4 separate regions of the Homo sapiens genome follow, and regions 2, 3 and 4 are each linked to region 1. The links are contacts of gene promoters, found by promoter capture Hi-C in blood cells and fetal thymus (Javierre and others, 2016). All regions are on one chromosome and are shown on one strand. Each heading gives the region's core, a stretch centred on a gene start or on the middle of the fragment in contact. The rest is flanking DNA. Distances are from core to core; before and after follow the strand shown.

Region 1 (7,404 bases), core at 3,016-5,515:
AACACGGGCAGATCTCCTGAGGTCAGGAGTCTGAGACCAGCCTGGCCAACATAGTGAAACCCCGTGTCTACTAAAAATACAAAAATTAGCTGGGTGTGGTGGCGCTTGCCTATAATCCCAGCTACTCGGGAGGCTGAGGCAGGAGAATGGCTTGAACCCAGGAGGTGGAGGTTGCAGTGAGCCAAGATCGCACCATTGTACTCCAGCCTGGGCAACATAGCAAGACTCCATCTCAAAAAAAAAAAAAAAAAGAACGACTTCGAGACTCTTTGCCATCCCAGCACCCAAATCCTGACCCCTGAACTCAGACACACATCTGCAATTATAGTATTAACAAGCCTAAAACCAGAGCAAGTCAAGAAATAAAAACACCATGCTTTCCTTGACCAATGGTTCACAGTTCTTCTGCCCTGGTAGAGAATGGCTGGTGTTCACACATATGGGATTCCTGTCATAGATAGACCTGAAGAAATGTCCAGCCCTGAGGGCACTGTCTGTTACTCCACTCTCTCTTCTACTAAATATCAGAATGCAAATGAGAATGATGTTACAGTGATCATCTCAAGTTCCCCGTATTCTATGGAAACTAAAACTTTTTGCAAATTTTGGTACAACATTACTAATAACCATTTCCTTGTGACACACCACTCAGTTGACTATGATGTCATCACTGGCTTGAACTACATTTGACCTGTTATTAATCCTTACTTTCTCTAGTTCTGGTATTCTCCACACCCTCCAAAACACTCACCCTAAATCTTCTGACTCAGAAATCCACAGGCTCTAGGCCAGTAGCTTTCACCCGTGGTTGCATATCAGATTCAGCCTAGGTCCTAGCCACAGATATTCTGATTTCATTGTTTTGGGGAAGATTCCTGGCATCAATATATTTTTTAAAGTTCCCCAGGGCCACACACCCAACTATCTGTCTCCCCACTTTGACCCGCTATCATCTCAGAGTAAAAATTCACCTTCTTTGCTGAGATGCTAGTCATACTATACTACTATGCTTACTGACTTACTTACTATACTTATTTATATTAATATATATTAATACTTACTATGTTACCATGCAAGGAAGGATTCCTAGTCATCATTAGCCTCCTCTTCAATTCAGTGCTGTAACTAACAAAACTATACTCGAATCCACTGGCATGTAAATTATTAGATTCATAGAGGGGCCCAGGTCTATACTGGCTCTCACAGAATTAGGACCAGTACTCTAAAATGTCTTTTTAGTGGTCTGGCCTTCTTCAAGAAGGCAGACACAGTGCCACACCCTGCTGACACCAGGAAGAGTCAAACCAAGTGGTCCCTTAGTCATTCCCAACTCCTTTCCTCTGATAAAAGGCACTGCAGAGTAAAGACTTTCATTAAAAGTCTAGGAGGCACAGCAAAATGTTAACAATGGTTCTCCCTGAGTGGTAGGTTTATTGGGGATTTTCATTTTTTTCCTTTTCTGTTTCTCTGTGCATGCCAACATTTCTAGAGTGAATATGCATTGCTTTCATAATTAAAATAAACATAGAAATAATCATCCCCACCCAAAAAGGGAGGAACGAGTAACAGATATGGACTGTGGCTCTGCCTGAGATGTGCTATGTGACCTGGGGGTGTGGCTTTTCCTCTCTGGTTAGACTAGATGCTCCTCCCTCAGGGCCCTCCCTCCTGCAACATTCAAGGACCCTCATTATCCCTCTGTTTATTAGACTCGCAGAGAACCCCATACCCACACTGTGAACTTATGATCTGCCATTCAGGTTTCTCAGGCAAAATCTCAAGACCCTGATTAGCTCCTGGATGAACTGTAATAAAAGTGAGATGCCACAAAATACCCTGACCCTACTGACCACTCTGAAGTTACATCTCAAAGCCTGGCCCAACAGAGACCCACACAGCTCAGGCTCACCTTTCTCTCTGGCTGGGTAAGAATAACCCAACAGGCCTTGCTGCAGGAATTAGAAGCAGGAGGCATTCACACTCCTTATCATGCTGGGTTTGGCTTAACTTCCAGGGTCAATGCAACAGCAGGATCTACAAGCAAATCCTGAGAGGACACAGGGCAGCTGCGTCACCATGGAGACAGGTTACCATAAGCCCCACAGATTGTCCACAGTGTTTCAAAGAGATATTCACAACCTGCGACAATAAAGGAAGTTGGATCCAGGAAAGAAAAACTACAACCAATCCCTGGATGACTCTCAAAAGCAACCTCTTGAGTACATTCTTGGCAACAGGGAAAGGTGAAAAAACTAAGATTTAAGCACACAGTGTGCTCCCAGGTATTGATGCTTTATTAATTCCTAAGTTGTGTTCTTTCCACTCACTTTTATGTAGAATGCATGGAGACTCACTTTTATGAGTTTCCTATTTCGCAAACGAAGGGAAACCAAGGCTCTGAGAGGCTAAGCAGCTTGCCAGAGATCACAGAAGTGACGAGCAAAAGAACCAGGATTTTATCTCCCCTGGGCTGGATTTAATCTGAAGCTGGGTATAACCTGAAAGCTTCCCCTCCACCTTGCCTCAGCGGGCACCCTCGGGGTTTCGAGGAGCTAAACATGCGTTAGGCTGGTGAGTGGAGGAACTACTATCAATCCCAACAAAGTTTTATTCAAAAAGACTAACAGTGAAAAATGCCTCAGGCAGAAGCATGAGGCTAGGCATGAGGAGATCCCCAAAACAGGGAAGACAGTGGAAACAGTGGGGCAGAGGTGGGGCATCCTCATTCCATCATTCATGGTCTCTCTGGCCAAGGTACCATGGAGCAGGCCCCTAAAATCCTGAGATCAGCATGGTGCCAAGTGGGCCAGAAGGGCCATAGTCCCTCCAGACCAGTCCTACCACATTCCAGCTGAGGGGCCTTGGGTGGGTCACCTATCCTTTCCGAACCTATTTCCACACCTGTAAAGCAGGAATGGCTTGAAGGGGAGAGGAGTGGCAGGTGCCTGGTGCACACGGCAGGCTGCCACCACCAGCTCCAATGGGAACCCCCTCTCTGAGTCCTCTTTTCCTCAAAGTCTGTAAGGAAGGGGCTCAAAAAAGGACTTGGAAGATCCCTGACACTTCGAAGAAAAAGTGAGAGCCCGGGAGGCCCAGCGGCAAAGGTGGCAGCAGCCACCTGTCCTTCCTCCTGCTGCCAGCGTGTGCCCTGGATCCCCACCTAGGCAGGGGCGCAACCTGCCCAGCCAGTAGCTCCAACAGGAACTAGGCCTCTGACCACGCTGGCTCCAGTCCAGCACCACCCACAGGAGTGAGCTGGGGTGGATCACGGCCAGAAGGAGCCCTTCCCACCCCGTGCCCCTTCCCGCCTTCCTCCACCCAAAGCTCAGAAATCCAATGCCCAGGGAGAGCACAAGGAGGCTTTCTAGCGCTGAGGGGGCCTTACAGCCATCTTTCGCTTCACCTGTGGGGCGCTCCCTCGCATCTTGTTTGTCCCTTAGGCCCTGGCACACACAGAGAATGAATGGAGCCGGTCACCGCCCGGAGGAGTTGTCAGTTTCGCGGAGGCACTGCGAGGCGGGCAGAGCGGGGTTGTCCTTTGGGTGCTGGGGGGTCCTCGCCTTAAACCCTTCTGCTTAGCCCTGACCCTCACCTTTTCAGGGAGATGATAACTTCTCAAGGAGAAGGGAGCTAAGAGATCACTAACAGACTTGCCAATTTCTGGTAATTTTTTTTCTACTTTCGTCTTTTTTACTTTCTTGCCTCCCCGCCCCCATGTGAGCTCTTACACTATCGTCTTCGGAGAAAGACTCAATAAGACGCGCCATCCTGGAGACCCCAGCTCCCCGCCCTGCCACTGCTCTGATGGAGAAACTGAGGCCCGGGGCTCTGAGGGCGGGCTTCCTCCCCAGAGCTGTGCACTCACAGCGGGTTCCAGCGCTCGGGCAGGCGGCGGTGCAGTGAGATGCGGTCGCTGAGGTAGATGTTAATCTGGTGCAGCCGCACGCTCTCCTCCTGCAGCCGCAGCTCCTCGCCCTGCAGCTGCAGCCGCACCGCCTCGCCCCGCGCGCCCAGCGCGTTCGCCGGCACCGGCGGCCGCGGCATGACCGGCTCGCGCCGCCCGGGGCGCGGGGTGCGCGGGGGTCCCGGCTCGGCAGCCCCGGCCCCGGCCCCACGCTGCGCCCGCAGCACCGAGCCCAGCCCGGCCAACGCCAGTAGCGCCAGGAGCACCAACAGCGCCTCCCGGCCGCGCCGCAGTTCCCGCGGGCAGCGCCGCCGCGCCGTGCGCCCCCACATGCGCCCGCCAACTGCAGCCAGCGATCTGCGCGCCCCAAGGCGGCGGTGGAGGCCAGGACCCGGATCCCGGAACCGCCGTGCCGCCCCGCCCCCGGCCCGCCCCACCTGCGCGCCGCCCCCTTTCCGTCCAGCCCCGCGCCAGCCCAAGCGCAGCCCCCGGGGTGGCTCATTTCGGCAGGGTCTTCAAGTGGGCTGGCTGAGACTTGCATCTTCCTTCTTGGGCTATGGTGCATTATTAAAGAGATAGTGGTGGTAAAACCCTTAGCGCCTGGCATATTGTAGGCGCTAAGTGTTGGCTGAATACACCCTGCAGGGTGTTATGAATTCTACTGCCATTATCTCATCTGATCTTTACACAGTCCAATAAAACAACCATCAACTAGGATTACGAGCTCCCTTTTACAGATGAGGAGATGGAGGTGCGATGAGATCAACAGACACCACGCTGCCCCACTGACTTCTGCAGGCCCAGCCTCTGCCATACTCTTTGGAGTCCTTGAATAGCAAACCCTCGCCTGGCTCGCCTCGTGATAGCTCTGTGACCTCTGAGGCTAGGAGCAAAAGGCCATGAAGGCTGTACATGATAGTTCACACCTGTAATCCCAGGCCGAGATAGGAGGATCACTTGAAGCCAGGAGCTTAAAACGAGACTGGTCAACATAGCAAGACTCCCATCTCTACAGAAAAATTTCAGAATTAGCCATGCATGGTGGCACGTGCCTATAGTGCCAGCTACTCAGGATGCTGAAGCAGGAGGATTGTGTGAGCCCAGGAATTGGAGGTTACCGTGAACTATGCGCCACTGCGCTGCAGCCTGGATGACAAAGCGAGATCCTGTTTCTATTAAACAACAACCAAAAAAGGCCATGAAGCTGCCGCCCTGTTCATGAGATCACTGCTGTGGGAGCCTTGAGCTGCCAGGGACGAAGTAAGTCTAATGGAGTAGACAAATATTAAAAAGATAATTAGAATTGTGTTAAGTATTTTGAAGAAGAATTACAGGGCGCTAAAAGGGCTTAGAATAGTAGAACTTGATCTAGTTTGGGGGTTTTGGAAAGCTTCTCTGATGAAGTAATGTCTACACAGATATCTGAATGTAAAAGTGATAGCAGAGATTTCAAATCATATCTTAAATTAATCTGGAACTCCCTCTGCTGGTGTCTAGCTCAGGGAAAAGAATCATTCTGTATCCCCTGTAGAAGGATAGAGTGTAAGCTCTATTTGTTGTTGTTTGTTTTACCATGGGAAGTTGGTCCAAAGCTTTTTATCAAATATTCTCAAGGAGACCAGAAGCCCAGAAAGTTTAAAAAGCACAAATCTGGTCCAATTATCTCATTGATAAATGCGGGGTCTGAGACACAGGGTGGGGAGAGGACCTTGAACTTGGCGGCTCAGGTAGAGGTAGAATCTGACTTGCTGTTGTCTTCATACAGCCTTTGGCTACTGGTATCCCCAGAGGAAATCTCCCTCAGGTTGCAGGAGGGGGGTGGGTTTTGGGATGAACCATGCAAAGCAGCTCCCACTCAGGACAACCTGCTGCTAATATTAGACTAGAGGGAAGTGGCTCTTCCCACAGTGCTCAGGGCCCCGCCTGCTTCCCACGCAGAATGGAGGCTGCTGGTTAATGCCAGAAGGCGGTTGTGTTAGGTAGGTCTGGACCTGAGCCCTTTGGCCTCTGTTCAGACACCCAACACATTTAAGATCTGCGGTCAGATTAGAAAACAGACAAGGATTACAATTCATAATGTCTTGGATCCGCTTGCCAAATTGGAATGCTTCTCAATAGAGGTTCAGATACAGAGAAAAGAGAAATGCAATTAGGCCTTACAAGACATGGACTTAAGCCCCAGGTAACAGATAAAAGCTATTGTTTACTGAGCACACACTGTGTGCTGTAAACTGCTGGACTTTCTTTTTCATGTACTTTCTCATTTCACCCTATGACAACCTTGCAAGGTTGACAGATGAGAATATGTAGGCTCAAGAAGTGAAGCAACTTGCCCAAGGTTACACAACATGCAAGCGGTAGAGGGAGGATTTGTATCTGGGTCTCCTGACTCACAGTCCAGGATTTCCCACCACACCACTCACTGTTGGGCAGGCTGCAATGAGATGCAAAGGCAGCTTAGCTTAGGAGGTCGGAACACAACCTTGGAGCCCACTTGCCTGAGCTCAACCCAGCCCCATCACGAATTGCAGTGTGACCTCAGGCAAGTTGCTTTACTTATCTCGGCTCAATTTGCTCATCTATTAAATGGTGATCTAATGATAGCACCACCTGAACAGGGTTGTTGAGAAGATTGAGTGATACAGTCTGCACAGTCAGCCTCCCGGGGCACAAAACAGAGTGGAGAGAGTGTCAGTAAGGCAAAGGGAAGATGTCCAGCACCTTGCTGAGTGAAGTATGATATTTAGACCAGAAGCATTGGTACCACCTGGGAGCTTGTTGGAAATCTAGCATCTTTTCAACAGAGGTAAAGCCCTTGGGTTTATTGCTATTTTTAGGGGGCTTATCTGTTCACTAACAGTACCATGTTATGTCATCGGCTGCTCACCAACAAGTAGATATCTCTAGAAGATGCTTTTAATTTGTCATATTAGCTCTCTTCATAGGAGTTATTACATTCCTTTTAGAGTTTAATATGATCTATGGTAGATGTGGTATTTCAAATATTAGTGGGGAACATGTGCCTAATTCAAGTAATAATTGGGACAACTTGATAACCATTTGGAAAAAATTCAAATCAAGTCCCAACATCACACTTTACATCAAAATAAATTCCAAATGATCTGAAGATGCCACAGTAAATAAGCAAAAAAAGGAAGGAAGGAAGGAAGGGAAGGGAAGGAATTTAATTATAAAAGTATTGAATGAGAAAAACCAGAGACCATATGGAAAATATTTCTAAATGTGACTATATAAAAATTTTGAATTCTGTAAGGCTTCCAGTATAATACAAAGTCCAGAAACAAAAGGCAAGTCAGAAAGAGATATTTGCAGATGACATTTACCCAGTATGTGAATCAATAGGGAAATAAAGAGAACAAACAGAAATAAAAATGGTCAAAGGATTTAAATAGACAGTTCCCACCCAAAAGGATATAAATAGTTTATAAAAGTATGAAAATATGCTCGATCTCTCTAAAATACATACAAAATAAACCTAC
Region 2 (7,404 bases), core at 3,322-5,821, 230 kb before region 1:
CTATTGTGTTAAATCACTGAAAAGTTTATTTAATTGTAGTCAGCCTTACCCTAGTATATGCACATTTTGCACATCTTTGCCACATCTTTGAATTTTCATAACCGGGACAACTAAATCTAACCAAATCAAAGTATGAAAAATGCTTCAAACCCCAGCCCAGATCCAGCTGAGAGACGCTCTGACTTACCATTGGTCCTGGGGCTCCATGCATTCCAGGTTCACCCTAAAACAGGAAGATATATACTTGTCACTGTTTGGGACAGAAACAAAGATGCAAAGCTGGGGCAGATATGTGCCTGCAGGGTCTGGTGACATAATTACCTTTTTCCCCATCAGCCTTTCCAGAGGAATGTCCTCTGTCAGGATGGCACCCGGCTCTCCCTTCTCGCCCTGCAATTCAGAGAACATCTCAATGAAGTCAGGACTCCTCCTTGCCACCTTGTCCAGAGAGTTTTGTACAGAGACTCCTCCTTGCCACCTTGTACAGAGACCTCTGAGTCCTGCAGCCATGATTTATTTCTCTTGCCTTCATCCTACTTGAAACCCCACTGCTCCAAAATTACCTCGTACTAGAGTATTGCAACAGCCTCCTAAATGAATGAATGTTCTCTCAGCCATTCCCTCTATGCACCATCAGAGTTACCGTCCTAAGGCACAGGACAGTCCTGTCTTCCATGCCCCTTCAGGCTCCCACTGATAACAGATTTGCATCCTCACTCTCAACCCTCCAGGATCCAGCCCCAGTGTGGTCCTGTCTATCTCCTGCCACATGGTGCCCTCAAGGAAGCTCTGGCTCCCAATGTATTTGACAGCTTGCTTTCCTAGCAACTCAACCTGAGATCTGTTCCCACCAAGAATACTTATTCTTGTTAAAACACCTGAAATTAGGAAAGAGATGACGGTATAAAAACTAGAGGCCTCTGTCAACATGGAGGCCTTATGTCTCCATATGCAACGTTGCCTCCAAACTCTAAGCTCCTGTGCAAACACTTACTTAGTTAGGCAAAGCTATCCCAGACATTAGGAATGAGTGATGGGTAGACTGGTGGCAAGAACACAGGATCCTGACCCCAATCCTGTCCTCAGCAGAGACATCTACTATGCTAGAGGCTGCTGAGAAGATGATTGTCAAGAGAACAAGACTGGGTGCAGAAACCTTCTATCTGACTCTGAGGCTTTGGCCCTAAACTTCAATGCTGGCCCCTGGGGAGCAGGGCTGAGCCACACAGAAGTCTCTTTTCAATGGGGCTGGGAGTAGCTAGGACAGTAGCATCAAAGCAAGCAGAGCAGCCTCTTTCTTCCATCCCCCTAAGCCCACACCTGGTATTTAGATCTTACCACTCCACTGATGAGGAAAGGTAGTCCTGAGCACGCCAGCAGGGAGAAGAAGCAAGCACAAAAGCATTAGAGGCAGAGTGAGAGAAAGCACGTTCACTGCAATGGCCAGAGCAGAACTGCCCGGCTGCCTGGACCAGTCATTCAAGGTGGCAGGAGGTTAGGGCGGGGATGTCATGTCCGTCCCTCTAGATCCATCTGACCTTACCACATAGGAAACAGAGTGTTTAAACAGAGTGTTTAAAGCAAGAGGTGCTCTTGCTTCCCTGGGCCTCCTCCCAAGCCTGAGCTGGCCAGCCCTGGTCCATCTCCACAGGCCTGTGGCAGGAAAAGCATCCCAAGACACATCCCCACGTGATGCCAAACCTTCACCCAGCATACCGAGCCCTCCATGCCCTGGAGCAGTGGCCCACTAGATATTGGAGGCCCTCTCCTCCTTGGAGACCATTATATTATAGAATGATGGGGGGAGAGAAGAACGAGAGGAGTTCCCCCATCCCACAGAGCACACCCACCCTCCTTGACTCCCCATGGCAGGCTCAGGGGGTTGCACAGTGCTCCCACTGGCTTTGCACAGAGCTCCATTCCAGCTGTAAGCATGTGCTCTGTTAGCTCTTTGCATATCTCTTCCTCATCTTATTTCTATATCCCTACGCCTAGCACAGGAAACTGCCTGGCACACCACACGGGTCAGTGGACGAAAGATGGATGAGTATATACATGGACGAGTGAATATATTAATCTGTTTATGGACGTCACTCTCCCCCTTATCTATAAAAACCAACTGGAAAGTTAATTCTAAGAGGCAAACACAAAAGAATACAAGCACAACAATAGGTTTGGTACCCTGGGAGTTCTCAGGAAGTGTTCTGTGTGCTAAGTATTTATTCCAGAGACTTTGGACCAAGACTGTTGTTCAACTGCAGAATGCTCAATTTATAATTTATAAATATTAACATTTGTTCTACTCATTAATTATACATGCTTTCGTCCAACAAGTGTATTCAGTACCATTTGTATACCAGGCCCCATATTAGTATTGGAGCTATGGAAAAGAAGCTGGCAGGATGCCTGTCCTCAGGCAGTGCATGTTCTAAGGGGGATGCCCAGCAGGTGGTTAGACAAAGCACAGTGTGTGTGAGAACAAAGGAGTGTTGAGTTGAGTTCTCTTTCCAAATTATGGTAAAAATCAATTTCACTACCCACTTCGTACCTTCTCGTCTCATAGAGAACCTGGAGATTAAAAAAGTTAACAGCTGGAGAGTGACCGCTAATAAGTATGGGGTTTCTTTCTGGTATGATGAAAATGTTCTAGAATTACAGAGTGGTTCATGAGGTTGTACAACCTTATGAGCCCACCAAAAATCACTGAATTGTACAATTTAAAGGGGTGAATTTTATGGCATGTGAATTGTATCTCAAAGAAGAGAAAAGTTAATAGCTATTTTCAGCCAATCTGAAACGTTTAGCAAATTCCAGCGCCCAATCTCACTCAGATACCTGGGCCCCTCTTACCTGTTCTCCTTTTAGTCCTGGAAAGCCAGGTAAACCAGTGTCACCTTTTGGTCCTCTAGGACCCTGGAAGGAATTGTTATATAGTATTTGGTTGTTCGTTAAGATTAAAATGCATAAACCAATCAGAAATATATTTTTTCTCAACAGTAGAATACACACTGCCATCCCCCAGGTAGGTGGAAGTCATGATTACCTATGACATTTTCTTAACCTTAAGTGGTCCAGAAACTGTGGTCTGGCAGAAAGAAGATAGCACTGAGTGTTAAGAGGCCTTGAGGCTTCACACTTTTTTGAACATTGGTTTCCTCCAACTGGGCACTACTGATCCAGCCTATTATCTGGGCCTGCTGCATCTGCTTGCCCCACGGCTCCTCCAGGCCACCCTGCAGCCCGCCTCCTCCACTATCCCCTTCCACGACTCCCACCCCTTCTCTGGCTCCCCACTACCTATGAGATGGGACCCAGGTACCTTAGCCTGGCACCCCAGCCCATCCCAGCCAGGCATCAACATCTCATCTCCCACACCATCAGGTTGACTCCCTTCCCGCAGCCTCTCTGCACTCCTCCATTGCTTCTGCACCAGCACTCATGCCACCCCCCCCATAGGAATGCCCACCCACCCCTCTGCAGAGCCAAATCCACACATGCAGCCAGAGGCAACCTCTTCTCAACTCCAACAGACACTGAATGCCTGTGACAATGACTCACACAGCCACATCTGCCTCAAAAAGGCATTTCAACACTTTATTGCTATTTTAACTTTTCACAAGTTCCTGTCTTGTCTGGATGAAAGAGTGAATTACCCATTACAGCAGTGGCTTTCAACTATTTGTTATTATTGTTTAGCAGTGAAACTCTTTTCCTTCCTTTTTTTTCCCCCAAATAAAGTCTTAAATGAAAGCCTAATATATACAAATATGTCCAGTGAAGCTTCCCTTATTGAAGGTCAGTGGCCTGGAATGTGCCTATTTGGCCCCCTCCTTACTCCCTGCAGTGGAGGTCCTGGAGGCTCTCCTGCAGAGCCTGGGACTCCCTCAGGAACACAGGACCACTCATTTAGAGGAAAGTGTGCTCTGAAATGTGCCCCAGGTCTTGGAGCAGCCAAGCCGGGGCTGGAGCTTAGGGGTTTGGCCTTTTCTTCTGCTAACCAAGAATCATGGTCAGAGTCATGGTCACAATCGTGGTCATGGTTGCCATTCTCTCTTTTGTTTTTTAACGTCTAGTTAGCACTATTTTTAGTGTTATCATATGATATGTGCCTTTAGAAAATGTAAAAAGTTCAGAAAATCAGCCAGGCTCAGGGGCTCATGCTTGTAATCCCAGCACTTTGGGAGGCTGACGCAGATGGATTTCTTGAGCTCAGGAGTTCCAGACCAGCCTGGGCAACATGGCAAAACCCCATATCTATCAAAAATATCAAGAAAAAGTTAATGAACAAGATGCCCCTGGAGCTCAGTCATGCATAGATGGAGGAAATGCCATTCTAGGTGGAAGGAACAGAATGATCGCAGCCACGGGGCACAGATAGAAGACAGCGAGGGTGGTACTTACTGGAAATCCTGGCAGCCCAGGCAACCCGTCCGGCCCCTGTGACACACCAAAGATAGAGCACGCTGGATTAGGAGCGGCATTTCCAGAGTCAGCAGGACCCCCTCCCTCCCAGCCCCTTCCAAAGGCCTCAGCATGTTCCCACAGCTGGGAAGACGGATTGACACAGCATTAGGGAAGAAGGGGCCCTGTGAGGGTCTGGATTTGCCAAGGGGAGGACAGTGACTGGAAAGAAAGCAAGGAAGAGAGAGAAGGGGTGGAGGCATGGTAATGCAGGCAGACAAGGCCCAGGGACTGTGAGGACAGGGATGCCCAATCTCTGGTTTTAGTCTCTCTGTGTTTTGCTTCAGTATCCACCCACCTAATATCAGAAACCTCCAATAGCTTGGGGAAAACAAAGACCCCTTGGGAAGAAACTTTCACTTGTTAGCTGGTTTGCTCTAGGGTTTCATTATTGAGGTATTTTGGATTATTGGTTTTCATAGAAATCAAATGGATGCAGTACAGAGGAGACAGGAAGATGGCTCACAATGAGGTCACTCAGCAGGGGAGAAACCTGGTGCCAGAAGAGTCTGCAGATATTTGCAGGAATCTTGGGGCAGCACTAGATTTTCCCCTGGATCTGGATGAATGGGATTCAGGGCAACCTCATGGGGATCTGCAGGAGAGGCAGGGACATCGGCATTGCACAGCTGTGAAGGCATAAACCTGTCTCCACAATGACTTGCACAGAGCGTCACAGTGTGCTAAGCAGTTTCACATCCCTCACTTCTTACAAGTTGCCTCAAAGGCTGGTGAGGTGTCATCAGAGAAGAGAATTAGGGGCTCAGAGTGGTGTGTGGAGAAGATGGGGCTGCAACCTCAAGGCTCCTAAGGCCAGAGCTCCTTCCTTTCTCCTGTGCTGACCAGCAGATGCTGGGAGATGCAATGAGTATTTATTCTACAGGCTGTAGGAGGAAGCTTCCTTCATCTTAGGGCCATTGTGCCATGAGTCAACTCTGCCAACTTGCAGAAATAATGTATATTTTGGTTTTTTTTGTTTGTTTGTTTTGAGATAGAGTCTCACTTTGTCACCCAGCCTGGGGTGCAGTAGTGCGATCTTGGCTCACTGCAACCTCCGCCTCCCAGGTTCAAGTGATTCTCGTGCCTCAGCCTCCCAAGTAGCTAGGATTACAGGCACATGCCACCATGCCCAGCTAATTTTTGTATTTTTAGTAGAGACAGGGTTTCAACATGTTGGCCAGGCTGGTCTCAAACTCCTGATCTCATGATCTGCCTGCCTCAGCCTCCCAAAGTGTTGGGATTACAGGCGTGAGCCACCACTTCTGGCCAAAAATAATGTGTATTTCTTATATACATTATAATCCCATTTTAGAGATCTGGAAATTAACACACAGATAATTTCCAGAGTTCTAAAATGGGGCTATAAAGACTAGAATGAGTCCATTTCTTCCTCGTTTCCCTTGAGCACAAGGAAAGGTGTCTCCAGGCTCTTCCTATACTATGAAATAAGATAATGTAAATAAAAGCAGGCCAAAAGTGTGCAACAGATGTCATCTGTTTGTTACTTAGCATTCTCTAATTTCCATGACACATATTGCCGGTGCACAGGACTGGAAGCTTCCACTGCTTTGGAGACAACTTTCCACATGATCAAATTAATGTGAAAGCAACTTTTCAAAAAATGCAAAGCTTTCTTTCCATTCTACTTTGATATATTCTAGCTCTACGCTTCAGGAGCTAAAAGGATTCCAAAGTAACCCGACTTTGTTTCAACAGGGGCGTCTGGGTAAAAGCCACATTCTGGGGCAGCTGTAGATACCAACCGGAGGCCCCACCAGCTCAGGAATGTCCGAGAAATTCATGAATCCATGGGTGATATTGATCAAGGACTGAAAAGAGAAAAATCAGACAATGAGGACAAAGGATGGCATGTGTTCTGCCTTGTTCCTGGCAGCAAAGCTTTAATTAAAGTCACCCAGCATAGCGGAACACCGCAGACACTGAGAACGCCCTCAGCCCACTGCCAAACACAGCTCTCCCTCCCCCTTCTTATAAAACAGCTCTGAGCTGCCTTCGCACTTTCCTCCTTTACTTAATTTTTAAATCACACAATATACGAATGTCTTCTCTTTTTAGAGTTTAAACATATACATATTATATGCACCCACAGAAAGCACAGTGTTGGGGTGTGTGTGTTTGTCCATGTGGTTATTTTACATAAATGGCATCAGGCTGTATTACTCCTCAACTTGCTTTTTTCACTCGGCCATATTGTGTGGAGATCTTTCCATGTGGAATTTTGGAATATGAATATTTTTAGCTTTAAAAGACTGCCAAAGAGCCATCCAAAGGGGCCAATTTACACTTCCACCAGAAGCACATGAGATTACCTTTTTCCCCACACCCTTACACATATTTGATTTTTAAAAATCGTGTTTTTTTTTTCTTCTAACTTTAGTCATCCTTTTTCCAGTTATTTGGGGCTTGTCTTTCTGTGGTCTACCAGCATGATGTTATTTCTCTCTAAAGGGCCAGGATTTTTCATGATGTGATGTCTTAATATTAAATGCATGCGATCTGGTCCCAGCCCACATTCCAGCCTTCTCTCCAATTTCCATCATTCTCTACACACACCCATGTGCACTATCCTCTGCCAGTCAGCTCCCTCGACCTGGAGCACACCACATTGTCCTACCCTCTGCTTTGGCTCAGGGCATCCCTGACACTAGAGCTTTGGAAGTTCTGTCCTCCGTGCCTACCTGGTAAAATCCTTCTCAGCTTTCCAATCCCTGCTCAAAGATACTTCCTCTAGGAAGTCTTCCTTGATTCCTCATAACCCAAACAGTCTTTTCTCCCTTGTTCCCCTCTTTATGTTCATTTGCCTGTCAGTTACAGCTCTGTTACAGCCCTTCTCCTGACCTCACTGGAGGCTCCTTGAAGACAGGAACTCTGTCTTACTTATCTTTATTTTTAATTTTTTAAAATAGAAACTTTTTTAATATC
Region 3 (7,404 bases), core at 1,789-4,288, 190 kb before region 1:
GAAAAAACAAGTTGCAGAACAACATACATGGCAAAGCATGTGTGGTTTCCATTCCAGGCTCTGGCACCACCTGCAGGCAAGTCGCTCAACTTCTGCCTCAAGTTCCTTATCTAGAAATGGGGAATTACAATAATTCCTACCTCATAGGGTTGTTTTGAGTACTGTGTGTCACAAGGACTAAGTAAGTTAATGCAAATAAAGCATTGAGGACAGCCCCTGGCATATAGTAAGCAATTGATAAATGTTCATTGTTGATATGGTTTTACGTGTGTAAAATAGAAAAAAAAAGTATGAGTATAGATATCGTATCATTATTATATATATAACATATTCATGTTATGTAATAATGATTATGACATACATAATATATACATATATGTATATGTATATGTATATGTATGTGCTTATATATTTATATACTTGGCTAAACCACAGTGTTTAGTACTGATATTTTCCAGAAGATAGGAGTGTAAGAAGAGGAAACTATTATTTTTCTGGTTTATACAACTGAGCATTAATTTAATTGTTCCCACATGCATATATTTCTTTTGCAATTTAAAAAGCAGCCCGGAATCCCAGCACTTTGGGAGGCCGAGGTGGGCAGATCACTTGAGGTCAGGAGTTCAAGACCAGCCTGGCCAACATGGTGAAACCCCATCTCTACTAAAAATACAAAAATTAGCCAGGTGTGATTCCACATGCCTGTAACCCCAGCTACTTGGGAGGCCAAGGCAGGAGAATCACTTGAACCCAGGAGGCAGAGGTTGCAGTGGGCAGAGGTTGTAGTAAGCTGAGATTGTGCCACTGCACTCCAGCCTGGGTGACAGAGTGAGATTCCATCTCAAAAAAAAAAAAAAACGCAAATGGATTTTTGAAGCAAAGAAAACTTATTCATTGGCCGGGCATGGTGGCTCATGCCTGTAATCCCAGTATTTTGGGAGGCCAAGGCAGGAGGATCATTTGAGCTCAGGAGTTCATGACCAGTCTTGGCAACATAGCGAGACCCCATCTCTACTAAAAATAAAAAAAAATAGCCAGGCATTGTGGCATGTGGCTGTAGACCCAGCTGCTCAGGAGCCTAAGGAGGGAGCTCATGCCTGGGAGGTCAAGGCTGCAGTGAGCCATGATTGTGCCACTGTGCTCCAGCCTGGGTGACAGAGCAAGACCCTGTCTAAAAAAAAAAAAAAAGAAGAAGAAGAAGAAGAAAAAGAAGTTGTACTACCATGACTGCACGCCTGTTATGGCTGGGCCCATGCCAAGATTGTCCCATGCACTCCCTCCAGCAACCCTCCTGCTGGCCCACCTGTCCTGCCCACCGGGACCCCTCCCACCACCTTCCTGCAGGTGGGCAGATCCTGGTTGGGGATCCCACTATCACCCCATGACAGGTGTGACCTGCCGGATCCACACATCAATACCTCAGTATTATTAACCCTGGGAATGAGACTGAGACTGGGAAGGGCCCTGAAGCCAGGTCAGCCTGTCCCCGGGCCAGGCCCTTCCCACACACGCTGTGCTCACGCAGGTCCCATGGTCACAATAACTCTGGAAGAGGTGCCAAATCCTCCAAAGGACTCTGCCCCCCTCCCCACCCACTCCTGTCCCATCCTGTGATGGAAGAGTGGCCAGCACGGGTCGAGCACTCTCGTCTTCCCTGCTCTGACCACCAGGGGGTGCCGTGCAAGCAGCCGATTGCCTGTCCTCCAAGGACTGACCCCTGGGAAGAAGGAGGTGGGGTGGCCCCTTCCACGGGTCACGATGGTGTCAGGGAAGCTCTGAATGCAAATATTAGGGGCTTTGCTTAGCCAGGGCTTTCTCCCACCATCCGGGCTGTCTACACATCAAGAAGAAAAGGACACTTTGGCTAGCTCCATTGCTTTCAACTGACCTTTTGTCTGCTAGATAAGGAGTGTGGCTGATCCCGGGAACAGGCGAGCTGCGTTGGGATCAGAGCCCAGTCCCCACGTGGACCTCATCTTCTCAGTCTAGGAAAGCCCTCGCCCCAGCCCCTTCACCTTAACCCCTTGCTGAGAGATCCTAATTCCACCCCTGAGAAAAGCATTCGCAATTCAGAAGCCACTTCCACAACTGCGGCCAGATTCAGCCCTCTCATCCACCCAGCATCGGGGATTGTTCATGCTCCCAGAGGACGGCTAAGGAATCTGAAGCTTGGAAACTGATCAGCAACTTGCCCCAGGCCGACAGCAAATAGGGGGCTAGGCAGGGCCTCCTTCCAAGCTGTCTGACTCTCCCCAGCGGGCAGTATTTCCACAGCAACACCCTGCCTCCTTGGCTCTGTCATGACGTTATTAAATTATCCTACAATTTTTTCTCTCCAGTTCTCTATACTTTCTCTGACCCACAGACTCCCCAAATTTAGTTGTTAAAATAACACTCATTAACTGATGGCAGAAGCAAAAAGAATAGTGATATGTATTATTGTAGAAGACTTGTATTAATAAAATACGGAAGTACAATAAAAAAAGTAAAAACCATCCATAATCCTACCACTCAGAGATAACTGCTTATAACATTTTGATGAATATTACGTCTAATATGTGATGTATCTAATACACACACATCGCTCTACATAGCTATATGTAAATAGATATAAATAACATATATTCAAAATTAGGGTCATAGACATAATTTTGGAATTTGCTTTTTTGGTGGAATATACCACGAGCATGTCCCTGGGTCATTAAATCTTCTGTATCACCAGTGTCAGGGCTGTATGTATGAATGAAATAGAATTTGGCCGACCAATCCCTACTGTGGGCAGTTTGGGTTATTTTTGTTCCTAAGAACAGTGCTGCCAGGAATGATCTTGTACTTACATCTTCAGTCTGAAGTGACGGCCCCTCTGAGAAATGACAGAAACCACAAGCGATCTCAGGGCTTGGGCATATGCCAAGCTAGTGCCTGGGGGATAGTGTTTGACGCCTGGGCTTTTACCAGTGCTCCTCTGCACAGGTAGGGGGACAAGAGGCAGGGGCCAGAGCCCTGGATGGGCAGCCAGGGGACCAGCTCTTCTCCTAGGGACTGCTGCTGCCTTGCTGGGTAACTGGCCCCTCTCTGGCCATCAGTTTCTCACTTGTGCCACACAGGAGTTTAGCTGATCCTCTGAGAGTTGGGGAGTTTGTGGCAAAAGTCAGAATGGGTGGGGACTCTGGACTTAGCTCTTCCAAGTGTTGGTTTTTCCACCTATAAAATAGTGGCTAGTGCTACTGAGTAGGCGGTATGCTGTCGGTGTTGGAGACAAAATATCCAAACACTTGGCACACTGTAGGTATTCAACAAAGAGCAAGGATTATTACAAACTTTTCTGTTAAACCCCAGAAGGAATAGAATCTGGGAGTTAGAAGCTCCAGATCTGGGGGTTAGAAGATCTGCTATCTGAGCTCAAATGCCAGCTCTGCCATTCACAAGCTGTTTGCTCCTGGCTGGGTTACTTAACTTCTCTGTGGCTCAATTTCCTCCTCTTGTCTGTAAAATGAGGGTGGTTCTCACCCTTTCTTAAAGGGTTGAGGGGAAGGTTAAATGAGATTCTGTATGTTACATACATGGCCCCGGCTGGACACATAGTAATCACCCAATAAAAGGCCACTACGTAGGCATGTGCATCCGGACTTGCCTTGTTTGGGGCTGCTGTGCTGGATGATGCTCATGTTGGTGGTTTCCAGGGTCCCCTCGGGTACAGGTTCACCAGAAAGTTCCATGTCTTCAAAGGGGGAGGATGGAGTTGGAGGTGTGTTTATGGGTTCAACTTTTGCTTCTTTGGGCTGAAGGGAGGAAAAATGAGATGCAAAATGATTTACTTGGCAGTAAAGCAGAAGAAATGACAGAGAATATCACTGAAGAAAATAATATATCCACAAGATGCTGAATAAACCAAGGGGAAAGCTTGGCCCCACTTGGTGTCTACCTGGGCAATGGCTGCACCTCCCAGGGCCTGAAAGAGGTGCCTACTAGAGGTCATTAGATTCTGTTCACTTGACAGTGAGACTATTCATCTCAGCCAAAGCTCTCTGAGCACAGGGACCACATTTCTGTGATTCCCAAATCCCAGGTCAGCCAGAGGAGGTGCCCAGTAAAGATCTGTTAGAGGAGGGAATGATTGAATGAATTAGTGAACAAATGAATGAACCAGGCTGCACTCAATAAACTGCATATAAATTCAATGCCAGATATGAAAACACCTATGAAAATGAAAGACGGGTGTGGTTCCTTCCGAGGAAACTTCAGCATCTATATAGCTTTTCCAAAGCCAGTCAGTGTCTTAACCAACATTACCAACTAGAGAAAAGCAAACAAACAAAACCCCAACAGAAACACAGAGTGCTTCAGTGATCTACGCAGAAATCCTAGCATGGGCTCCAAAAGTCACAGCATCACCCCTGGACCCAAGCAGCAGCTCGCGGGACCCAGCGCTTGTCAGCATTCAGATAGCCTCATCACTTTCTAAGCTAAAGGGGCTGGGGGTGCATGGAAGAATCCTGTGAATCAGTGTTGAACTCGTGGTATGAACAAGAAACCAATCTTTGTTTTGTAAGGCACTAAGATTTTTGAGGTTAATTTGTTACTGCAGCATCACTTACCTTTCCTGACTAATAACAGAAGGTTATTTCCTTAATTCAGAATCTAGTAAATCAAAAAATTTCTGGTCCATGGAACAAGGAGGATTCTTGGAAGCCCCATCATTTAGAATTTAATAGTTCATTTCTTACAGTCAGACCTGGATCAAATCCCAGCTCTCCACTTATAAGCTTAGTTATGTTGGGCAAGTCATGGAGCTTCACTGAACCTCAGCTTCCTCCTCTGTAAAAATGAGGACAATAAAGAACTACTTGAAGGCAGGAAATAGAAAATGCATGGAAGGGCTAAGCACACCTTTATATTTAGTACATAAATATTCCATATTTGTTATTGAAAACACTGTAAGTACAGATGAGCAAAAAGAGAAATCACCTTGAGTCCTAACACCCAGAGACAATCACCATGGATTCTATTGTACTGTAAAATCTTCAGGGTGGAGGTGGGAGGAAAGGCTTTAAGGAGTTGGGCCTTGGAGAATGAGCAGGGTTTCAGAACACAGGGGTGGAGGGTTGATGAAAGTCAGGGCCTGGCAACTTGAGCTTGGCAAGAGCCCAGGGCTTGAGGAGGGAAGCAGTGGAACAGAGCCCAGGGAGGCAGGCAGAGGGAGGAGCTGGTTCTGTGGGGAGAAGAATGGGCTTGAACCCAAGGGCCACAGGCAGCCACTGGGGAGCATCGGGAGAGGGAGTGGTGGGGGCAGCTGTGTGTTTTAGAGAGTCCTCGCTGGTGGCAGTGTGATCATGGACTAGGGGAGCTGAGGCTTACGCCAGGTGACTGGGGGGTGGCAGTAAAGAAGTCCACAAGACAGGAACCAGGGCAGCAGTGGGAGCAGACAGCAGGCACCTCCCCAGGGGAGGTTGTGAACAAGACCAGGTGGGATGTCTCCATTTCACCCAGATGGATGTTCATCTAGCAGGGAAGATAAAGACCCCTGCCCAGGAGGTTCCTCTCCTCTCCCTGTGAGGGATCAAGGCAGAAGCCACTCCATCACTTGTTCAGGAACCAATGCTCAAGCCCCTGAATGCTCATCTCTAGTCTGGAGTGAGGCTGCTGGTGGCTGGTAGCAAAGGTGCTCTATAAGGCATTTGGACTTTGGGATGAGGCGGGCAGGGCAGGTGAGGGTTCAGGAAACATAGGAAGACAACGAGATGGGGGCTGAGCTCTGTAACTCAGGGTGGCTGAAGTTGTCAAACTCCCAACAAGGCATCCCAACCCCCCTGCAAGGACAGGGCATGGTTCTGGTGAATTGACCCTCAGGAGTGAGGGTAAGGGGACCTGCCTCAAATAGGTGGCTTTGGTTTTCAGAGGTCAATGTGAATGGGGATCCAGTGTGGCCTGTGACAAAATAGGAACCTCAAGTCTGAAGACTTGCTATTAAAAGTGTTGCAATTTGCTGAGTCCAGGCTCACGTCCACACAATCAGATTTACTCATTCTGCACATATTTCCAGAGGCCCTACCGTGTGCTAGGTCCTTGGCTGAGCCCTGGGGACACAGAAATGAATAACTAAGACAGCGTGTCTGTCCTCAAGCTGTCAGGTGATGGAGGATCCCCAGACCTAGACCAGACGCAACAAACCATGATTCGGAGTGATGCATGGGATGGCGTGAGTGAGAGCCAAGTGCGAGGAGGGGGCTTAGCTAAATAATGGCCTCCAAGGAGAGGATGTGGACTGGATCCTGAAGGCTAAGTAGGAACTTGCCAGGCAGAAATGGGAGCTGGGAGGGGCCCTCCAGGCAAACAGAACCGCAGGAACTAAGGCGCCATGGAGGGGAGAAAGTGCTCGGTCTGTCCAGAGAACTGTGAGCATCTGGGTGTGGTTGGGAAAGAGGCCCTGGCTGAGGACCAGAATCACCTGCAGAGCTTTTTGTCAATACAGATTCTAGGATCTTTCACTCCAGATCTACTGAAGCTGAACATCCAGGTCTACAGCCCAGGCAAGAATCTGCTTTTAAAGACCAATCCCCCCAACACAGTGCCTCCCCAACCCCCCATGCCACCCCCACCCCCAACACACACTTACACACAAATGACCCTGATGCACAGCCAGGGCTGAGAACCACAGGGATGTTAATTCCAACAGCATAGAACTTTCTGAAAATGCAAAGAATTGGATAGCAAGGACCCCAATCCTAAATGGGGAAGAAGGCAAGGAGGGGCAGACTTTGTAGTCCCTGACCACTCAGAAAGTCTGCAATTCAGTTCACTGGCGACGGCTCATGTCTCAAAGGGTGGCAGGCTGGAAAGGCTGAGGATGGGGAAGTGAGATTCATTCCAAGAAAGAAGTTAGACAGACAAGGGGCGGGCGGGGACTGTCTGAGCTGAAGAGGGAAATTCCCCGTCCTAGAGGGTGGCTGCCGGAAAATGCCATAAAGCCCTTCCAGGAGATGTTAAAAGGGGGAAGTCCCCAGCTCAGGGGTGGCATGACTGAGTGCACTCTGGACCCTGAGCTGGAGACCTGGCTCTGCCACCTCCAGGCTGGGTGCCTCCAGCAACCATCTCCATGGCCTCAGTGCCCTCCTATGTAGAAGAGACCCCAAACACCTCCCTGCAAATGAGACTAAAGGAAATGGAAGCATGTGGAAGAGCGTGAACTGTGGTGCAGACAGACGGGTGCACAGGGAAGGCATTCTGATGATCAGGAACAGACAGGTTAAGGTCAGGACCATCAGGCCTCGAGGCACAGCCCAGGGCAATCCCCTTAATAACTGAAGGCAGCCACAGGGGTTTGGCATGCCTGTCAGCCCAAGCCACTGGCCAACCAGGAGGCCCCAAGAGGAACGAGGCATCTGTACTATGCCCGGTGCTGAG
Region 4 (7,404 bases), core at 3,654-6,153, 170 kb before region 1:
AAAAAAAGCGAGTAATTAGCCTATAGCGTTGTTGTGAGGATTAAAGGACATAATACAAAGTGCTGGCACATGCCAAATGCCTAAAAAGTGGTGGATATCATGGCTGGACACACTGTGGCTCACAACTGTAATCCCAACACTTTGGGAGGCCAAGGAGTGCAGATCACTTGAGCCCAGGAGTTCAAGGCCAGCCTGGGCAACATAGTGAGACCTCATCTCCACAAAACAACAAAAAAGCCAGGTGGTGTGCACCTGTAGTCCCCGCTACCCAGGAGGTTGAGGTGGCAGGATTGCTTGAGCCCAGGTGATCAAGGCTGCAGTGAGCCATGATCATGCCACTGCACTCCAGCCTGGGTGACAGAGCGAGACCCTGTCTAAAAAAAAAAAGAAAAAAGGCAGCCATCATCATCATCATCATCGTCATCACTGTCATCTAGACTTGCTGGTTTAGAAAAGAACCGCAGAGGTCACCTGACACAACTCTATCTGTTGATAAAGTTGTATCAGGTTGTAACTGGTGACCTCTAAGTTTCTATCGTACCAGACCCTGCCCTGTCTGATTTGATAACCAGTAGCCACATATGGCTATTGAGCACTTGAAAAATGGGTCTTCCCAACTGAGATGTGTCATAAATGTAAACTACAAACTAAATTTCAAAGACTTTGCTTGGAAAAATATCTCAATACTATTTATATTGATTATATGTTGAAATCATTTTGAAAAACAATGGATAAATAAAATACATTATACATTAATGGGTGTGGTCATGTGTGCCTGTAGTCCCAGCTATTCGGGAGGCTGAGGTGATAGAATCACTTGAACCCAAGAGTTTGAGGCTGCAATGAAATACGATCATGCCACTGCACTTCAGCCTGGGCAACAAAGAAATACCCTATCTCTCTCTATATATATCATTTTTTAAAATTTTAAAATAGGGCCTGGTATGGTGGCTCATGCCTGTAATTCCAGTGTTTTAGGAGGCCAAGGTAGGAAAATTGCTTGAGGCCAGGAGTTTGAGACCAGCCTGGGCAACACAGAGAGACCATCTCTACAAAAAATTTAAAAATTAGCAGAATGTGGTAGTGCGTGCCTGTAATCTACTACTCTGGAAGTTGGGCCAGGAGGATCACTTGCGCCTAGGAGTTTGAGGCTACAGTGAGCTATGATCACCCCACTGCACTCCAGCCTGGGTGGCAGAGTGAGACCTGTCTCTAAAAAAAATAATTATAATATTATGAGGAACAAGTATGTGCCCACCACTCCACGTAAGAAAGACAGTATCAATTCAGCTGAAGCTCCCATGAACTCTCTTCAGTCCTTTTCCTCTGCCCATGCTCTGGCAGGAGCCATTCTTGTGAATTTGGTGTTTATCACTCCCACGCATTTGTATGTCCACTCGATACGTGTTTCTAACAGAATGTAGAACCATGGTGTGTGTTCTACACCTCATATAAATGGTGGCATGATGCACACATTCTTCTGAAACTTGCTTTTATTTTTCACTCAGCATTGTATTTTTTAGATTTATCCCTGTTGATACATGTGGCTCTGATCTTATATTTTCTTTTCTTTTTTTTTGAGACAGAGTCTCGCTCTTGTTGACCAGGCTGGAGTGCAGTGGCACAATCTCGGCTCACTGCACCCTCTGACTCCTGGGTTCAAGCGATTCTCTTGCCTCAGCCTCCTGAGTAGCTGGGATTCAGGTGCCCACCACCATGCCTGGCTAATTTTTGTACTTTTAGTAGAGACGGGGTTTCGCCATGTTGGCCAGGCTAGTCTCGAACTCCTGACCTCAGGTGATCCGCCCACCTTGACCTCCCAAAGTGCTGGGATTACAGGCGTGAATGAGCCACCGCGCCTGGCCTGGCCTTATATTTTCACAACAGTACTCTATGGTATAAATAAGCTACAATGGGTTGATTCACATTTCTGTTGGTGGAAGGTGAGGTTTCCATCAATATTACAAATGATACTGCCACGGACTCCCTTATACACATCTCCTCCTGCTTACCTGTGCAGGTAATTCCACAGCTGGAAGTGGAATTATTGGATAATATGGGTATGTGCACCTACAGCTTCCCTGAATATTGCAAAATTGTTCTCTGAAGCAACCGTGTCATGCATGTCGCAGACCCACCAGCAGCATATTCTTGCCAACATTTAGGGGAGGCAGAGAGATGCAATTTGGGAGAGGTCCACGGGGCTTTTCAACGGTAGTGATAGTGTTAATTGTTCAGGTGGTATTCAAAAGAAATATTCATTGTATTTTTCTTTATAGCAAATTTCATGGAAAATATTTCATACAATTTTTATGAAAACGATTAACCCCTCCTCGACAAAAGAGCACATCTGATCCTGTTGCTATCCTGCTTAGAAGCCTTCTATGAAATAGGATTTTTCATGGCCCTCAGGGCCAGGGCTGACCAGGCTGCTGCCACCTGGCTCAAGAGGCCCTCTGTGGTCAGGACCCAGCTGCACTCCCTACTCCCTGACATGCCTGACACAGCCCCAGCGTGCCCCATGCTGTCCCAGGGACTCCCACCCCTGCCAGGAATGCTTTCCTCTGTGCCATCTGCCCCAGCCCAGCCCAGTTATTTTCACTGAATGACTCCTGCTCATCAGCCCAGGCCTCGCTTCCCCTGAAATCTCGCTTCACCTCCCGCACCCACACCCTCCCCTCTGGGGGCTGCATTAGAAGTCCTCTCTGTACACACGGGGTCCTCCATCATAGCCCCTGCATGTCACTATTGGGTCACTTGCCTCTCTTCCCACTGGGCCATCTGTCTTCCCAGTAACCAACCCAGGGCTTATAGTGAATGAATGAACAAATGAATGAATGTGTACATATTCTCAAGTCCCCTCTTTTTTTTTTTTTGAGACAAGAGTCTTGCTCTGTTGCCCAGGTGGGAATGCAGTGGCATGATCACAGCTCACTGCAGCCTCCACCTCCCAGGCTTAAATGACCCTTCCACCTCTCAGCCTCCCAAATGTCTGGGGCTACAGGCATGCAGCATCACACTCAGCTAATTTTTTCATTTTTTTGTAGAGACAGGGTCTCGCTATATTGCCTACGTTGGTCTCGAGCTCCTGGAATCAGTGATTCTCCTGCCTCGGCCTCCCAAAATGCTGGGATTACAGGTGTGAGCCCCTGCGCTCAGCCTCCAATCACCTCATTTTAGAAAACACTAAACTAAGGTTAATAGAGAGGAAGTGTTTGCTGGCCATGAACTCAGATTTGATTCTCAATTGAATGCTTATCCTCTCCAGTTTACAACTTGCTTTAAAACAGAAATTAATTTTAGTTAAAAGATTGGTAAATTTGGTTAAATTTGACCACTTAGAAAAAAATGTTCTGCATAGAACTAATAAATAATAATAATAATAATAAAGATAATCCCTGCAATGTCAAAGAAAACCCCAAAACCATGAAATGACTGATATTTGCTACAAAAATCACAGCAACAAACTCATTTCTCTAATATGCAAAGTAAATGAATACCCAAAAGAAAAATGGGCAAAGAATAGAAAATTCTAGACACAGTAAAAGAAATTAAAATCTTAAACATATGAAAAATACTCAACCTCATTCATAATGATAGAATGAGTTAAGATTACGAAGGGATACCATTTTCCCTATCAGATTGGCAAAGACCAGAATACGCTGTGTTGGCAAGGGTTTAAGGCAGCAGGCCTTCTCCTGCGTTACTGGCAGGAGCATAAATTGTTATAACGTGGTGGGAGGCAATTTAATAACATTTATCAAAATGGCAAATGTGCATGTACTTGTTGACCCAGCAGTCATACGTCTATGAATTTTTTAACAGATAAAGTTACATATGTGAAATATAAAGTACATACACAAATATTCACAGCATCGTGGTTTAAATTTACCTAAAATTCCCATCTTTGGGAATGATTAATATAATAAATGATGACAGGTTCACACAACGAAATCCAAGGCAGCGTTTCAAAAGATGTGATTCCTTAAGTACTAATATGAAACAATCAAGATGTACTATATAAAAACAGACAAAATAAGGTGCAGAAGTGAATTGCTATCAGTTGGAAATGTATGTACTAATACAAATTAAATATACCATATATATTTAAATATATATGGTATATTACAATAGCTCTAGAAGAATACACAAGAAACGGGGCAGTGGTTGTCTCCAGGGAAGGAAGCTGGTGGCTGGGGGCTGGGAGACTTGCTTTTCACTGGATATCTTTTTATACTTTTTTCTATTTTACAGCATATACATGGTATGAAAAGTAAAGACATCTACATATTTTTAAAGAGATTATCTCCTTGCATCCACTTATAGAAATCATAAAACCTATTCTTCTTGCTTTTCCTCACTCAGATACAGCTTATCTTTGTACAGAAAGAAAGAAAAAAAGAAGGAAAAGAAACAAAGAAAACCACACATCCCACTGAGATTTCTTTTCTTTCCTCCACGGTTTAAAGACAAAAACAAAACAAAACCACAAACACCCTACTGAGAGCTCTGCTTTCTTCTTCGCTTATCCAATCCAGTAAAAAGCTTTTCCTCTATTTCCTCTCTCTTTCCTGCTGGGAACAGGAGGGGGAAGCCTCTTTCTGCTCGGAAAATTCCTGGTGCCACAGAGAGTAAAAGCACCAGAGCTTCACATCCTGTGGCTTGTTTCCAAGTGGTGTCTCTGAGGGATCCAGGGCCAGGTTAAGCGTTCAGGCGACACAGGGAGAAGGGCCTGAGAGGCTCCCACTCAGAAAGCTCATTGCTTAAACCAGCCTAGTGCTTCCCATGGCCAGTAGATCCAGGCTTGCATGTGGCAATTCTGGGAATTCTTATGCCTAGGAGTCTGCTTAAAAACAAAAATTCATGAATCTATCCAACATCCTTGTTTTCTAGACAGGGAAATTGATGTTCAGGGAGACTTCCATGGCCAGGAGGCACAGCCAGGAAGCAACAGATGGGGCAGCCAAGCAAGGGTGGACAGAGTCTTGGTACCACGAGTCCCAGAGCTGGTGCCCTCCCACAGCCCCGACCACTCCAGGTCCTGGCCAATGGTTGGTCAGCTGGAGAGGGGGCAAAGGAGGCAGCCTGCAGTGGAGAACATCCTCTTCCTTGGACACAGCTGGGATGAGACCCCTCCTTTGCCCTTTACCAAACACAAAGCCTTTGGGCGATGACTTCCTGGTGATCAGGGGAGGTCCCTGCCCACTTCCCATGTGGGGATTCAATGAGACGACAGATGGGAAATGCAAGGTATAAGCTTAACAAAAACCAAAGTCTGCAAAAAAGATCCCTTCCTAACCCTCCCACCCTCCATCCCCCTAGACCTCAGCCATTCAAGACAGGACACATGGATAGGCGCTGGCCCGCAGGCCTTGTTTCCACAGAGTCCGCCAAGAGGGAGGCCAGCCATGAATGTAGAGCAAGCCCAAGTCAGCCCCAGCAGCCCAGCTCTGCTCTCAGCAACCCCCACCACATCCTTCCACATCCACTGTCCCATGGCATGGCGTGGTAGGGGACGACCCCTGACCTGGAGTGACCCATGCTCACTCGCGGCTGCGCCTGGGCCTGCTGGCTCATTTCCCTTTGGCCTCCAGCAGGAGGGCCACCTGTTTAGGCAGCCACCAGGGAGGGGAGGAGAAGCCAGGGAGCCAAGACAAACAGGCCCAGCAACTGGGTCCATGGGCTTGACCTTGGATGGCTCTGTGCTGGGCAAGAAGGGAGGAGGGTGGAGATCACAGCTGGTGGGAAGACATCCCACCATTTTGGAGGGGACTGGGGACTGGCGTGGAGCATGCTGATGGAACTCTGCAGCCTGAGGATTCTTGGAAGCGGCCCACACTTATCCCCAGATAATAATACTTCTCTCAGAGGACAGTTGTGTGACTTAAATAAAATAATATACCTAAAATGTTTAGCACACTGCTTAGCACACAGAGTGCTTAATAAATGGTAGCTGCCATTTCTTTCCCTATTATTATTACCCTGCTATTTCCCATGCAATTGTCATACTGGAAAACTCAAGGTATCCTGAATGGGTCCTACATTTTACACCCTTGAGCCTTTGTGTATGCTGTTCCCTCCACTTGAGGAACTGCTCCACACATCTCAGGGCCCAACTTCAATGTCATCACCTCCTCCATGAAGTCTTCTTGGATTCCCCCACCAGGTAGTCTGGGCATTCCCGCTCCTGCACTTGGCCCTGACTCTATGTAGCATATATGGCATTATATGACTAAGGTGTTGGACCCTACCATCTTGGAACCTCCTTAAGTGTAGGAACTGGCGTCCACTTCTCCCTGTCTCCCCCACACCCAGGCTCTGTCCCTGAGCAGGTCCTCAGGAAGTGTTTGCTGGCTGAACTAAATCCTAGGCATTCCTGAATTGAAGGTGCCAGGCTCACAGTCTGAGGCCCTGGTGAGAGTCACTGAGGTCGGGCTCCAGTCTGACATCCAACAGTGACCTCACTGCATGCCCATCCATCACCTGAAAGTCCACGTTCCCTCCCATCTCCACGATGCTGGATCCACTGGCCCAGAGAGCCCATCTGGGAGGCATGAATCCATGGGGCAATGAGAGACCCAGGGAGGGGAGGAAGGACTCAGGTTCAAGACTCTGTCTGTGACCTTGGGCCAGCTAGTCCCCCTCCCTGATCTCAGTTTTCCCATCAGAGAGTTAGACCAGATAGACTCTCAGAGCCACATCCACTGTGATTTATTCTATGTATTTTCACTGCCTTCAAACACTTCCTGGGGCTGCATCTGACCGGTCTTATTCTCTCACTTCATTAATGCTTAGAGATAGCTTCATTTCCAATGGGGGTTTTCAACTTACTTTTCCAATTCATGAATTTGATCATATTTCTAAAGCTCCCACATTGTGCCTTGTGTAGTGCTGGAGACATGGAGCTAAGCCTGGAACATGTGTGCTCAAGCAGCTCACTATCTAGGTGACCATTAGTAGTCATCTGCTCCTATTACAAGCTCCAAAGCCTTCAATGGCTCCCCAGTGCCTTCAGCATAAAAGCAAAATTCTACTCGAGACACCCTCTGCTTCATCTCCTCATTCTCCCCCCGTGTCTTTGCCTTCACTCATGCTATTCCTTCTAGTGACATCACTCTTCCCCATCTTCTTACATCTAAATCTTTCCAGTCAGGCTCAGCTGCACCCCAACACACGGGGGCCCCACTCTCACTCTGCAAAAAGGGCCAAAGTCATCCCCCCTCCTCTAAACATCCACAGAGCCAAGGGGATGCTGTGAAGGAACGGACACAGGGAGAGACAACCTGAGCCTCCCTCCCTCAAATCTAGTTCAGACTCCTAAGTGCAGTTTTGGGGTGGCCCCTCCTCAGGGCGCAGAGAGGAGAAATCAGACGGTTTCAGAGACAGAGGAGGCAGAGGAAAATC

What was found. Contacts are between HindIII fragments. The CHiCAGO score rates a contact against its expected background, and 5 or more counts as called.
Region 2: a contact is called between a fragment that was not itself captured here and the fragment with the promoter of GALNT12 in region 1, in 1 of 17 cell types (M0 macrophages). The highest score is 5.0, in M0 macrophages.
Region 3: a fragment that was not itself captured here is called in contact with the fragment with the promoter of GALNT12 in region 1 in 3 of 17 cell types (M2 macrophages, M0 macrophages and M1 macrophages); the score reaches 15.4 in M2 macrophages.
Region 4: a fragment that was not itself captured here is called in contact with the fragment with the promoter of GALNT12 in region 1 in 1 of 17 cell types (M0 macrophages); the score reaches 6.3 in M0 macrophages.

What each region holds. Positions count from the first base shown.
Region 1 is chr9:98,804,531-98,811,934 of GRCh38, reverse strand. GALNT12 (polypeptide N-acetylgalactosaminyltransferase 12) reads right to left here and starts at 4,265. Exons shown (of 10, transcript NM_024642.5): 1 at 3,866-4,265. The coding sequence starts at 4,236. It overlaps LOC124902229 (a long non-coding RNA gene), which reads left to right and starts at 4,355. Exons shown (of 2, transcript XR_007061689.1): 1 at 4,355-5,164. RefSeq lists silencers at 4,124-4,193, 4,294-4,383. The HindIII fragment of the contact is 2,789 bases long and covers 2,508-5,296 here.
Region 2 is chr9:99,037,554-99,044,957 of GRCh38, reverse strand. It overlaps COL15A1 (collagen type XV alpha 1 chain), which reads right to left. Exons shown (of 42, transcript NM_001855.5): 22 at 6,225-6,290; 23 at 4,402-4,437; 24 at 2,851-2,913; 25 at 322-390; 26 at 188-223. Among named protein-coding and RNA genes, the nearest start is that of TGFBR1, 64 kb to the left of the region's middle. The HindIII fragment of the contact is 1,578 bases long and covers 3,783-5,360 here.
Region 3 is chr9:98,993,312-99,000,715 of GRCh38, reverse strand. COL15A1 (collagen type XV alpha 1 chain) reads right to left here. Exons shown (of 42, transcript NM_001855.5): 6 at 3,635-3,782. Among named protein-coding and RNA genes, the nearest start is that of COL15A1-AS1, 52 kb to the right of the region's middle. RefSeq lists enhancers at 911-1,666, 1,667-2,423. The HindIII fragment of the contact is 1,735 bases long and covers 2,171-3,905 here.
Region 4 is chr9:98,975,633-98,983,036 of GRCh38, reverse strand. The region is part of intron 2 of COL15A1 (collagen type XV alpha 1 chain); the gene reads right to left. Among named protein-coding and RNA genes, the nearest start is that of COL15A1-AS1, 35 kb to the right of the region's middle. The HindIII fragment of the contact is 712 bases long and covers 4,548-5,259 here.